Linked DNA regions of Homo sapiens: all the other regions are linked to region 1. The links are contacts of gene promoters, found by promoter capture Hi-C in blood cells and fetal thymus (Javierre and others, 2016). All regions are on one chromosome and are shown on one strand. Each heading gives the region's core, a stretch centred on a gene start or on the middle of the fragment in contact. The rest is flanking DNA. Distances are from core to core; before and after follow the strand shown. Region 1 holds the start of SDHB (succinate dehydrogenase complex iron sulfur subunit B). Region 2 overlaps PADI6 (peptidyl arginine deiminase 6). Region 3 holds the start of NBPF1 (NBPF member 1). Region 4 overlaps PADI4 (peptidyl arginine deiminase 4).

What was found. Contacts are between HindIII fragments. The CHiCAGO score rates a contact against its expected background, and 5 or more counts as called.
Region 2: a contact is called between a fragment that was not itself captured here and the fragment with the promoter of SDHB in region 1, in 4 of 17 cell types (neutrophils, endothelial precursors, megakaryocytes and 1 more). The highest score is 8.5, in neutrophils.
Region 3: a contact is called between a fragment that was not itself captured here and the fragment with the promoter of SDHB in region 1, in 3 of 17 cell types (total CD4 T cells, naive CD8 T cells and erythroblasts). The highest score is 6.3, in total CD4 T cells.
Region 4: a contact is called between a fragment that was not itself captured here and the fragment with the promoter of SDHB in region 1, in 2 of 17 cell types (neutrophils and monocytes). The highest score is 13.5, in neutrophils.

What each region holds. Positions count from the first base shown.
Region 1 is chr1:17,052,688-17,055,691 of GRCh38, forward strand. SDHB (succinate dehydrogenase complex iron sulfur subunit B) reads right to left here and starts at 1,345. Exons shown (of 8, transcript NM_003000.3): 1 at 1,261-1,345. The coding sequence starts at 1,332. RefSeq lists enhancers at 1,225-1,284, 1,835-1,884. The HindIII fragment of the contact is 17,146 bases long and covers 1-3,004 here.
Region 2 is chr1:17,384,660-17,387,480 of GRCh38, forward strand. The region is part of intron 6 of PADI6 (peptidyl arginine deiminase 6); the gene reads left to right. Among named protein-coding and RNA genes, the nearest start is that of PADI6, 14 kb to the left of the region's middle. The HindIII fragment of the contact is 3,457 bases long and covers 1-2,821 here.
Region 3 is chr1:16,612,205-16,614,976 of GRCh38, forward strand. It overlaps NBPF1 (NBPF member 1), which reads right to left and starts at 1,360. Exons shown (of 18, transcript NM_001405701.2): 1 at 1,134-1,360. RefSeq lists an enhancer at 1,204-2,161. The HindIII fragment of the contact is 6,693 bases long and covers 1-2,772 here.
Region 4 is chr1:17,354,817-17,357,790 of GRCh38, forward strand. PADI4 (peptidyl arginine deiminase 4) reads left to right here. Exons shown (of 16, transcript NM_012387.3): 12 at 1,167-1,311; 13 at 1,541-1,643. Among named protein-coding and RNA genes, the nearest start is that of PADI6, 16 kb to the right of the region's middle. The HindIII fragment of the contact is 6,300 bases long and covers 1-2,974 here.

The DNA.
Region 1 (3,004 bases), core at 95-2,594:
TCAGAAAGGCTGATGCAGACAGAGTGGATCCAAGTTCACACACAGCATGCTGGATAGAACCAGGATTGGAACATGGGCAATATGTACTGTGTTATGCAGCCATAGCAGGCACTTAAGATGAAAGATGTCCTCATTTAAGTGCAAGAGAGGAAGAGGAACTAAAATTTCTTGGACACCAACCATGTCCCAAGATCTATGCTAAGGAGTTTTTCTGGTACCATGTTAAAAAACTGCCTCAGGTCTGCTTCTTGGGAATGTGATATTTTGAGCAAGCCAAAAATTTTCTTTCTGGGGGCCTCAAGTTTTCAAAGCTCCAAAAAGGAGGGTAAGGATTCTTGCTTGCCCACCTTAAAGGGGTTGTTGAGAATCCCAGAAGAGGAACAGACTTAGAAAGGATTTGCAAATCCTTAGTCCCTTATGTATACAAAAGCAATTTCCCTTCCCCTTCTAAATGTTCCCACTTAGAAGGCAGGTCAGAAATGTGTTGTTTCTTGGCCATACAAGGGGCGTGGGAAAATCTGTTACTGCACACGGCATAGTAATAAACAAGAACAGCGCCAAGCCCTCTACCTGTCATTCCATGTCAACTCTATGAGGTCCGTATTATTATATGACCTTTAGAGTCAGAAACACTGAGAGGATACTAGTGAAACTGTGGTGACACTGCTTTAAGGAACCCAGTCTTTCCTGCAACCCCCACCACCCACCTCCGGGATCCTTCGAGGTAGGGGGCTGGGTGCATTTCCCTCCATCTCTCCCTTCCCCTGCCCTGTCCCCAACAATTCACATGTCCTTTCCTCACCCATCCCGGTCCTCAACCTCGCACCCTTGAGGAATTACCTCGCTTCCCAATTCCCATCCTTCACACCCCGCAGGTCTCCCTTTTCTACAGAGGCGATAGTTTGGTGGCAGAAAAAGGGCTTGGAACTCCAATGTCTGGATTCAAATTCTGGTTCCAGCAGTCATTCGCTTGCCATGTGACCTTGAGCAATTCAAGTCCCCTTTCTGAACGTCCCCCCCCCCCGCACCCTTAGCTGTAAAAAATTGCCCGTGCCCTAACTCACAAGCTGCTGCGAGGCGCAGAAAGATAACTTGACAGGGATGCTCGAAGCCAAACCAAAGCACTGCACCAGGGGGAGGAGGTCCTCCATCTCCCTGAGGCCTTGCCCTATGCTTCCTCAGTCTCTCCGCAGCCCCATCAGCTCCAGGCAGTCTCTGTGGCTTTCCTGACTTTTCCCTCTCTGAGGCTCCAGGACTCACCTGCAGGCAGGCTCCGCCAAGGGTTGTGGCCGGCAACCGGCGCCTCAAGGAGAGGGCGACCACCGCCGCCATCTTGGCTCCTGACGTCAGCCCCACCCCTTAACCCCGAGGTCGCTCTCCGCCGGTGTCCCGTCGAACATCGCGGCGCCCAGCCTACATCCACTGAGGACCCACTAGCCGCGTACGAGCAACCAAGTGGGAGGCGGCTTCCGGTTTCCCGGGTGGGCGGAGGGAAGGCGGGGCAAGCACAGCGAGCGTGCGCAATAGCGCAGTAGCGGCGCATGCCCATTTGGCTTCCCCCGTGACCTTCTCAGAAAGGGGAGGAGTCTGAGAGGCAGGGCGACTTTCAGGGGGTGGGGCTAAGACTTAGATGGGGCGGAGCCATCCTATCCGGGTCCCTGCCCCGATTTCAACCTCTTTATTCCTGGAATTTTTGTTTGTTTGTTTGAGATGGAGTCTCGCACTGTTTCCCGGGCTGGAGTGCAATGGCGCGATCTTGGCTCACTGCAACCTCCGCCTCCCGGGTTCACGCGATTCTCCTGCCTCAGCCTCCCGAGTAGCTGGGATTACAGGCGCACACCATCACACCCGGCTAATTTTTTGTATTTTTAGTAGAGACGGGGTTTCATCATCTTGGCCAGACTGGTCTTGAACTCCTGACCTCGTGATCCGCCCACCTTGGCCTCCCAAAGTGCTGGAATTACAGGCATGAGCCACTGCGCCCGGCCAATTTTTTTTTTTTTTTTCAGACAGGGTCTCACTCTGTTGCCCAGGCCGGTGTGCAGTCTTGGCTCACTGCAGCCTCGACTTCCCAGGCTCAAGCGATCCTCCCACCTCCAGAGTAGCTGGGACTACAGGCGTGTGAGCCACCATACCCGGGTAGTTTTTTTTTTTTTCTTTTTTTTGAGATGGAGTATCGCTCTGTCTCCCAGGCTGGAGTGCAGTGGCGCGATCTCGGCTGACTGCAACCTCCGCCTCCCGGGTTCAAGCAATTCCCTGCCTCAGCCTCCCGAGTAGCTGGGATTATAGGCGTCCGCCATCATGCCCGGCTAATTTTTTTGTGTTTTTAGTAGAGATGGGGTTTCACCATCTTGGCCAGGCTGGTCTTGAACTCCTGACCTCGTGAGCCACCCACCTCGGCCTCCCAAAGTACTGGAATTACAGGCATGAGCCACCGCGCCCGGCCACCCGGATAATTTTTTTAAAAAATTATTTGTAGAGATGGAGTCTGGCTATGTTGCCCAGGCTGGGCTCAAGCAATCATCCTGCTCCAACTTCCCAAAGTGCTGGGATTACAGGCGTGAGCCACCACACCTAGCCTCCCTAAGAATTTGTCAGTCTTATTATTCATCTCTGACGCTTACTGGCTTGAGTCAGCCCTTTCTGTCGCATACCGTGCAGCTTGCCCGAGGCTGCCCAGGTTTCTGCACTGAGAGTCCCAAACAAACTGGGCAGTTGGTGAATGAGCTGAGGTGATTTCAAGGGTGGCTGGCAAAGGTGCCATTCTTTTGTTCGTTCATTCATTCATTCATAAATACGAATGGAGTGGCTACTATGTGGCAGGCACCAAGTGCTGGGATGCTGCAGGGAATGAGCAAGCCAGGTGGTCACTGCTCATTGAATTTACTCTCTAGTGGTGGAGACGGCAAGTGAGCAGACAGCTAGACACTGTGAGCTCTGTTCTGTACGAGAGGGTGTGCCCAGAGAAGGACACCCAGTCCTTGGTGGCTTTGTTAGCCATTTA
Region 2 (2,821 bases), core at 47-2,546, 330 kb after region 1:
ACCCGGGAGGCAGAGGCTGCAGTGAGCCGACATTGCACCACTGCACTCCAGTCTGGGCAAAGTAAGGCAGTGGCCAACCCTGGCAAATGCTGTGGGATAGACTAAGATGCCCAAGCCCATAGTAAAGTCACAATCCTCAGAATGGCAGTCATCAGTGACCCTGATAATAACAGTGAAAAGCCAGGTTGAAATGGGGAGGCACAGTAAATCTAGGCCACAGAAAGAATTCTCTCTCCGTAAAGGGAGATGTGTGGTGGTAATTACAGGGGCCAGCACGCAGTCGAGCGTGTCTGAAGCTGGTAGTACACGGGCAGATGTATAGATGGAACTGATCCAACAGGGGTGGGGAAATGGATCCTAGAGGAAGATCTGAGAAGTTTGCAGAGGAATAGAAAGCCAGAAGACAAGGTTCTAAACAGGCTGGGCGTGGTGGCTCACACCTGTAATCCCAGCACTTTGGGAGGCCAAGGCAGGAGGATCACCTTTAGGACTATGGAATACAGGTGAGTCTGTGGACAGGAATGAGACGATAGTGTTTGAGTAGTGTTGGTGGCTTGCTCTGAGGTCTGGTCGTAGCCTGAAATGAGGCCTTTTGGTGTGATGGTTTTCTCCAGCATCTCAGGTGCAAGAGTGAGCTTTAAAGACCTGGTGTGACCAGAATGGAGGTTTTCCAGGAAAGCAAACTAGAAAAAGGTGTGGGAGTGGACAGTGTGTATAAGAGAGGATGTAGTGATGGGTTTTTGGGCTCTGAGAAGGGTCAAAGGGAAGTGTGAGGATGGAGGGTGGGGATCGGTAGGAGGATCTGGGACTGAGGTTGGGGACTCGCTGGGGTGGGAGCATAGGTGAGCGAAACAGATCGGAAGGCATTGTCTGCCTTGGAGGTGGCATCTAGTCTGGGTTATGATCATTGTAATGGATGTCTAAGGTGGTATAGAACCCAGGTTCATTGAAATAAGGTCGTCGAAGAGAGATCAAAATGTCTAGATGTTCTAGTCTATTGTCAGATACCAGTGACACAACAGCAGTGGAGGGCAAGTATGCTAGAACAATCCACGAAGGATGGAGAGGATGACATCGTCGTCCCCAAAAGAAAGGGGTAGCTGGCATTATCTGATGGCCAGCACTTCACAGGAACTGGGATTCTTGAGGAATAGAGAAATGGCCGAGAAGTGCCAGTGAAGAACCAAGAAGGGTACCCACCTTCCTGTAAGTCCAGCAGTACATGGCAGGTAGGAAAAAGCTCAGCTCAAATCATCAGTATTTGCTCTGTGCCCTGAGGATCCAGCTCTGGAAGAATAAACCATGTTACCTGCTCTCAGAGCCTGCTACGACAGATGGACAGACAGTCGAGGACCCAGCAGAGGCTGGAGGGAGCCCTTTAATATGCCCCCAGGGTGGGTAGGGAGAGTTTGAGGTAGCTAAGGCCTCCTGGGCAGCTCTGTGAGGACTGAGGGCAGGGAGGGCCTTCCAGGTAGAGGCAGCTATTGTGTGTACTTGGGTCGCAGGGCTTCTGGCCTCCCCCATGCTTCTGTTTAATGGGGACAACAAATGCCTGCTTCAAAGGGTCCTGAGGATGTGAGCCCATGAGCCTGAAACACCTACCACAGCTCCTAGCAAAGATAGCCCACAGTGAAATGTTAGCTATGCTTCACAACAAACTATCTGTGAGAGGGGCCCCCAGAAGGTCAACCACAGGAGAGCCAGCCAGTAGGGGATTGTGGCAAACAGACTGTGACCCTCTCGCCCTCACTGCCTGGTGGTGAATCACCCTTGGGTGGAATGGCCACAGGGAGCCCAGGTCCCCAGAACAGGAGCAGGCCCTAGGTGTGTGGCACCTCTTGGGCTGCATGCCGTGGGCCTGCTGATGCTATCGCAGGTCAAGAGGGCTGTGTCTGCACTGGGAAGTTGCAGGGGTTCCTGGGGGAAGACTGCCTTGTCTGGTCTTGCCCCATGAGGCCTGGCTCAGGGCTGGTGAAGCATCTAGGTAGATGAGAAGCAGGAACTAGCACAGGAGTGGTCCCGGTGGGCCCAGTTCCCTCACAGCCAGCAGCAGGACTGAGGCTGGGCCTGTAACCAGCATCCCCAGGGCCTCCAAGGAGGGGCTGCTGCAGAACTGCAGAGTCCATCGGGAGGGCTGCTGGGGCTCTAACCCAGAGCAAGAGGCCGAGGACCCAGGGCAGTGCCTAACCAGGGGCAGCCACGGCCGCAGCTGCAGCCATCTGCTGGCACGTTGGAGGAGCTGGAGATGGAGGCAGCTGGCAGTGCCGTGCAGAAGGTCTGAGGATGCTACAGTTCCTGGATCTCTTGGGGTTCTAGTGGCCAAGGTAAATCTAGCTTAGGATCCCCTGAAATAAGTCACCTGGAATCTTGAGCAGGAACAGCCATCAGGCCTACAGCTGCCACATCGGGCACAGATAGAGGACAGGCCAGGAAAGAGGAAGTTCGAGTGACCCAGGTGGGAGAAGTCAGGGTCATTTCTGACCTAGAAAATGAATGGACTTGGGCTGGGCACAGTGGCTCACGACTGTAATCCTAGCACTTTGGGAGGCTGAGGCAGATGGATTGCCTGAGCTCAGGAGTTGGAGACTGGCCTGGGCAATGTGGTAAAACCCCATCTCTACTAAAAATACAAAAAACTAGCCGGGCATGGTGGTGCACACCTATAGTCCTAGCTACTCAGGAAGCTGAGGTACAAGAATTGCTTGAACCCAGGAGATGGAGGTTGAAGTGAGCCGAGATAGTGCCGCTACACTCTAGCCTGCTCAACAGAGCAGGACTCCACCTCAAAAAAGAAAAGGAGGGGGGGGGGCCAGGCGTGGTA
Region 3 (2,772 bases), core at 90-2,589, 440 kb before region 1:
GGTCTGGAAATCCTGGGCTCAAGTGATCTACCCACCTTGGCGTCCCAAAGTGCTGGGATTACAGGTGTGATCACTGCGCCCGGGCCACCTGCACATGTAAAATTGTGAACTTCTGTATACTTCAGTAACTTTTCCAAGATTTCTTTGACGCAAAGTTCTCAGAAATCTTAAAGCTAGCATTTCAGAATAGAAAAAGTAGCTTCTGGTTCACTAGTGAAATTTTACCAATAGAATTTAAAAACAAAAAGCTACTAACGCATATCAGCTCAGAACACTACCAGCAGATCTTTTCTTTAACTTCCTGAAGCACTGGGATTCATTCTTTTGGCAAAGAAAGGATGAACAACACTGTAACCCAAAGAAAAGATACCACTGCCAGAAAAGACTTCTTTTCGAAAGCAGCTCTAAGCAAAAGATAGGAGGAAAACAAGGAAGCCAGGCCAAACGTCTTGGTTAACTCTCCGCTGAAAGGACGCCACATGAGATGATCTAAGAAGCCAGCCAGCCAGCCAGACGCAGGGAAATCACAGCAACTCTTTGGAGTGCAAACAGCAACCCCACAATCCAATCTACCCGAAATCCTGCGGTTCATTTGAGGCTTGCCCCGCTAGTCAGGAGGTGATTCAGTGATGGCTACAAATGCTGCTCATGTGCATCCTGGAGCTGGCACACCTGGCTTGCCCATCACCAGCCTGGAGACACCGCCAGGAGCAGAAGCCCGGAGGCCAGTAAAGACCCCAACTTTGCAAGTCAGGGGCGCGAGCGCGCTCGCCTCTCAGGTCCGCAGAGGGAACGGATTTCTGGCCTGGAGGGTGGGGTGCGGGGTCAGTGTCCTCTACAGGATATAGGAGGACGTGCCCCCGAAGCTGCTCCGTCCCTCCACCCCCTGGGATGCCACAGAACACCCGCCAGCGAGTTTCTTCCCCAGCGCCCACGAGAGTTGGGCTGCGGGCGGCAGCGGCAGGCGAAGAATCCAGCGCGGGGAACTCAGGCCCCGGCGGTGCACGACCCCCCACAGCCCCCACCCGCCCCCGCGCTCGCGCAACAAAACTTGCCACGGCCGCGCCTCGACCCAGCTGTGCGCCCGCGGGTCCCGGATTCACCGCCCGCCCAGCCTGGCGCGGCGCCCTCACCTCAGAAACGCTGGGTGGACTTCGCGTAACTTCCCATTCACAGGGCAGCCGGCAGCCGCGCCGCCGCGCCTCGGCCCAGCTCCTGGCGCCGCAGATCGCCCGTCCCGCGTTCCCAAAAGCACCGCGCTCGCTCAGAAGCTCGGGCAGCCTCGCGACCCTCACCTACGCCTCCCAGTACCGCCGCTGTCTCAACCGCCACCCAGCCCCTCGCCTGCGCCTGCGCCTGCAGCCCACTGGCTCCTCAGGATCCCGATGGGCGTGTCAGGATAACCCAAGGCGCAGGCGCGGCGGGGCCTTAAAGGGACCCGGCGGCCTCTTCTGCACAACGGGTTCGAGCAGGTTAGGGGCCGCGCAGGCGGAGGAAAGGAGTAACCCAGGGGAAGGACCGAGTGCAGCGGGGACGGGGAAATCCCTCTCTCCCCTCCGCCTGTCTTTCAAAGCACCAGCCCTCGACCCTCCAAATCGCTGGTTTCCCCGGCCACTTGAACAGCCCCTGCCAGGTTGAAGAGGCAGGAGACACACCCCCTCTGGGGCTGGAGCGACCCCGCGCTTAGGACTGCAGGCCTCGCGCTGCCGCACCGCCCCGAATCTGACTTCCAGGCACGGGCACGCGGTGCAGTCGGGCAGGCTTCAGAAGAGCCCCCAGCTCTCCCAGAGGTGGCCTTAGGTCACTCTCAAAAAGAATAACCAATGTGTCAATGGCACTTGTAGTTATTTTCTAATTTAAATTTATTAACAGATTTTGCAGATGGGCTTCCACTGAAATAAGCCTTTGAGAAAAAGAAAAACTTTTTTTTTCAACAGGATTAGAATACCAAGAAATAGGAAGTAAAGCCATGCCGTCCACCCAGCTAAAAACTTTGAAAACTTGATATTTTATCTAAGGCAAATGTTTGCATAACTTTAGGTCATGCCATTATTTAAAGTCAATTTCAGTTAACAATTTCATTGCAACTGAATCTATCTTGTATAAGAAAACTAAGATACATCCCTGATAATCTACCTCTCCCCTCCTATACTCCATCCGTCAGCAAATCCTACTGGTTTTTACCTTCCAAATTTTCCTTGAATCTGTCCTCTTCTATCTCCTCCGTCACCACCCTAGTCTAGGCTGCCTTCACCTGGGGAGTGAGGGTCGAGGGACTACTGACCTAGTCTTCTTGTGGTTTACCCATATCCCCTTTATCGCCTCTCTAATCTCAACACAACAGGCAGAGTGGCTTTTCCAAAATATAATGTGACCGTGTCACTTCCCAGCCTAAAGCACTTAAACACCTTCCCATTCTCTTAGACAAAACCTCCTAACTAACCAAGCCCCGAATGGCCAGGCGCCTTGCCCACTTCTTCATCTCTTCTCACTACTCAGACCAATTCTGTTCTGCTCTCTCTGCTCCAGCCAAACTGGCCTCTTTTATTCCCTATTTACCAGCTTCCTGGCCTCCACAGAGCTTTTGCTCATGCTTTGCTCTGTGCCTGGAAAGTTCTTCTAACCCCTATTCTTCTGAGAACAGCTGTAGTCTCCACCTCTGAAAAGCACCTTCTGACCTCCCTATGGTGGTCCCTTACTCCTATCACATTGCATGAAACTGTAATCGGGTGGTTATTTTGGTGAATTTTTTACTATCGGCTACGTAAGCCC
Region 4 (2,974 bases), core at 174-2,673, 300 kb after region 1:
AGGAATCCAAGCGCAGGGTGAGGAATGCGGGCTTTGGAGCCCATAGACCCAAGTTCAATTCCAGCCCTGCCACTTACCCTCTTTCAGTCAGTGAATATTTACTGAGCATCCAAAATGTTCTGGGAGCTGGGAATGCAGCCGTGGACAAGAAAGACAAGTCCTTACCACTACTCTAGTAGGGAAACAGATGATAGAAAAGTAGACAAGATAACTTCAAATGACAAAAACAAAAGAGAGGGGCACGGGAGGAATAGGAACTGTTAGGGTGACCAGGGAGGTCCTCTCTGGGGAAGGGGCTTTTGAACTGAGGCCTAATGACAGAAGGGACAGGGCCACCTGGAGATCTGGGACAGAGAGTTCCTGGCAAATGAAAGTGCATGTGCAAAGGCCCTGAGGCAGGAATGAGCTCCTGCGTGCAAGGCCAGGATGGCTAGAACCTATTGAACAAGAAGAGGCTGGGCACAGTGGCTCACACCTGTAATCCCAGCACTTTGGGAGGCCAAGGCAGGTGGATTACCTGAGGTCAGGAGTTCGAGACCAGCCTGACTAACATGGCGAAACCCCGTCTCTACTAATGCAAAAATTAGCTGGGCCTGGTGATGCATGCCTGTAATCCCAGCTACTCGGGAGGCCGAGGCAAGAGAATCGCTTGATCCCGGGAGGCGGAGGTTGTAGTGAGCCGAGATTGTGCCAGCCTGGGCAACAGAGCAAGACTCTGTCTCAAAAAAAAAAAAAAAAGTGAGGAAGAACAAGGCACTGCAACACTAATTTTTTTTTTTAGGAGAAAACTGAGGCTCAAACAGGTGAAGGAATGTCCCCAAGGCCACATGGCTAACAAGAGATCACCGACTTAGGTCAGACTGGCTCTAAGCCCCATGTGTACCCAGAATACCAGCATCTCATCTAACTCAAGAGGCAGTGCTTTCTGAGGCTAAGCTCTGTTCTACTTACCTTAGTGACTCTGTGCCTCAGTTTCCCCCAATAAAACTAGAATGACAATTCCTTGATTTCTCAAATGTTAGGGGATAAAATAAAGGCATTCTAGACTCCTGCATCCCTTTCTCAGCTGAAGGAGAACCCTGACCTTTTTGCCAAGCCCCTTGTCCTTCAGGGACTTCCCTGTAGCCCTTGCTGCCGATAACACCCCTTTAACCCTGCCATGACAGCAATGACAGCCGGCAGATGCACCAGGCCCTGCAGGACTTCCTCAGTGCCCAGCAGGTGCAGGCCCCTGTGAAGCTCTATTCTGACTGGCTGTCCGTGGGCCACGTGGACGAGTTCCTGAGCTTTGTGCCAGCACCCGACAGGAAGGTACAGTCTTGGGGGCTGCCTCAGGAAGCCATGCCTCCTTCCTGGGTAGACCCTCTGCCTGGGGTGGGAGCAACTTTACTTGTCTATTTCTCCTTCACCCTTAGGATGGCAGTAGAGGAGGTGGCCAGCTTGGGTCCAAGTCCACACTACTCCCACCCTCAGCAGATCCACCCTCGTTGGGAGCTCCAGGGGCAAAGCTGACTTCTAACCCCAGTGTTTCTGCCTCCAGGGCTTCCGGCTGCTCCTGGCCAGCCCCAGGTCCTGCTACAAACTGTTCCAGGAGCAGCAGAATGAGGGCCACGGGGAGGCCCTGCTGTTCGAAGGGATCAAGAGTAAGTCGGCCCTGCCTTGTTCTCCTGTCTGTGCACCTTCCTGCTTCCCATAGTCCGCTGTTGCCTGGAGGGAATCATCCAGGCAATAGGGTAGCATCTGAGCACCTACTGTGCGCCAGGCACTGTGCCAAGTGCTAGGGAGACTGCATGAACAGGGCAGAACAGCTTGCTGCCCTGTGGGCTCACAGGCCAGGGGGAAGTGAGTCAAAAGAACAGCTCCAACACAGGGGCTTTGAGGGGTGTCTGAGTGGATGGAGCTCAGGGAAGGCTTCTTGGAGGAGGCAGAGGCCAAGCAGTAGCATGCAAGTAGGGGTTGGCTGGGCAAACGGGGCAGGGAAATGAGAGGAAGAGAGATACCACAGGCAGAGGGACGGGGGTGGGGCGGCTCAGAGGCAGGAGAAAGCACGATGTGTGTGAGGACCTCGGGGAGGTTCGGTATAGCTGGAGCACAGATGAAATATTACTCTCTCAGCAGAGCTCACAGACATGGGCCAGGCCCCGGGCTGAGATGCCTCTGTGGCTGAGAGCTCCACCTCAGATCTGAGTATGTTGTGTGGCATCAGGAGAGGGCTGACCTGTTTCTTCCTCTCTCGATGGGATCTCTTTGGAGATAAGATAATTTAGCGTTAATGCAAGGCAAAATGTTCCAGTGAACAAGTTTCATGGTTCAACTTTATAATAATTATAAGTAAACCTGTTAAATTTTTCTGGACATTCTTTTCTTTTGAAACGAAGTTTTCCTCTATTGCCCAGGCTGGAGTGCAATGGCGCGATCTCGACTCTCTGCAGCCTCTGCATCCCGGGTTCAAGTGATTCTCCTGCCCCAGCCTTCCGAGTAGCTGGGATTACAGGTGTGCACCACCACACCTGGCTAATGTTTTGTATTTTTAGTAGAGATGGGGTTTTGCCATGCTGGCCAGGCTGGTCTCGAACTCCTGACCTGGTGATCCACCCACCTCGGCCTCCCAAAGTGCTGGGGTTACAGGCATGAGCCACCACGCCTGGCTTAAAACAAGGACATTTCTTATTGACAGCAACTAAATGGTACTTGTAGCATTTTTATCACACAGTAGATTCCATCCATTCACTATACTTTTCTGAGCTGTCTGTCCTGCATGCAAGTAGATATTTTTAATGTTGTCTGTTTTCTGTGCTGTTCCTGTAAGTGTGCTATTAAAATACACTAAACTAGGCTGGGCGCGATGGTTCATGCCTGTAATCCTAGCACTTTGGGAGGACGAGGCGGGTGGATCACGAGTTCAGGAGTTCAAGGCCAGCTAGGCCAAGATGGTGAAACCCCGTCTCTACTAAAAATACAAAAATTAGCCGGG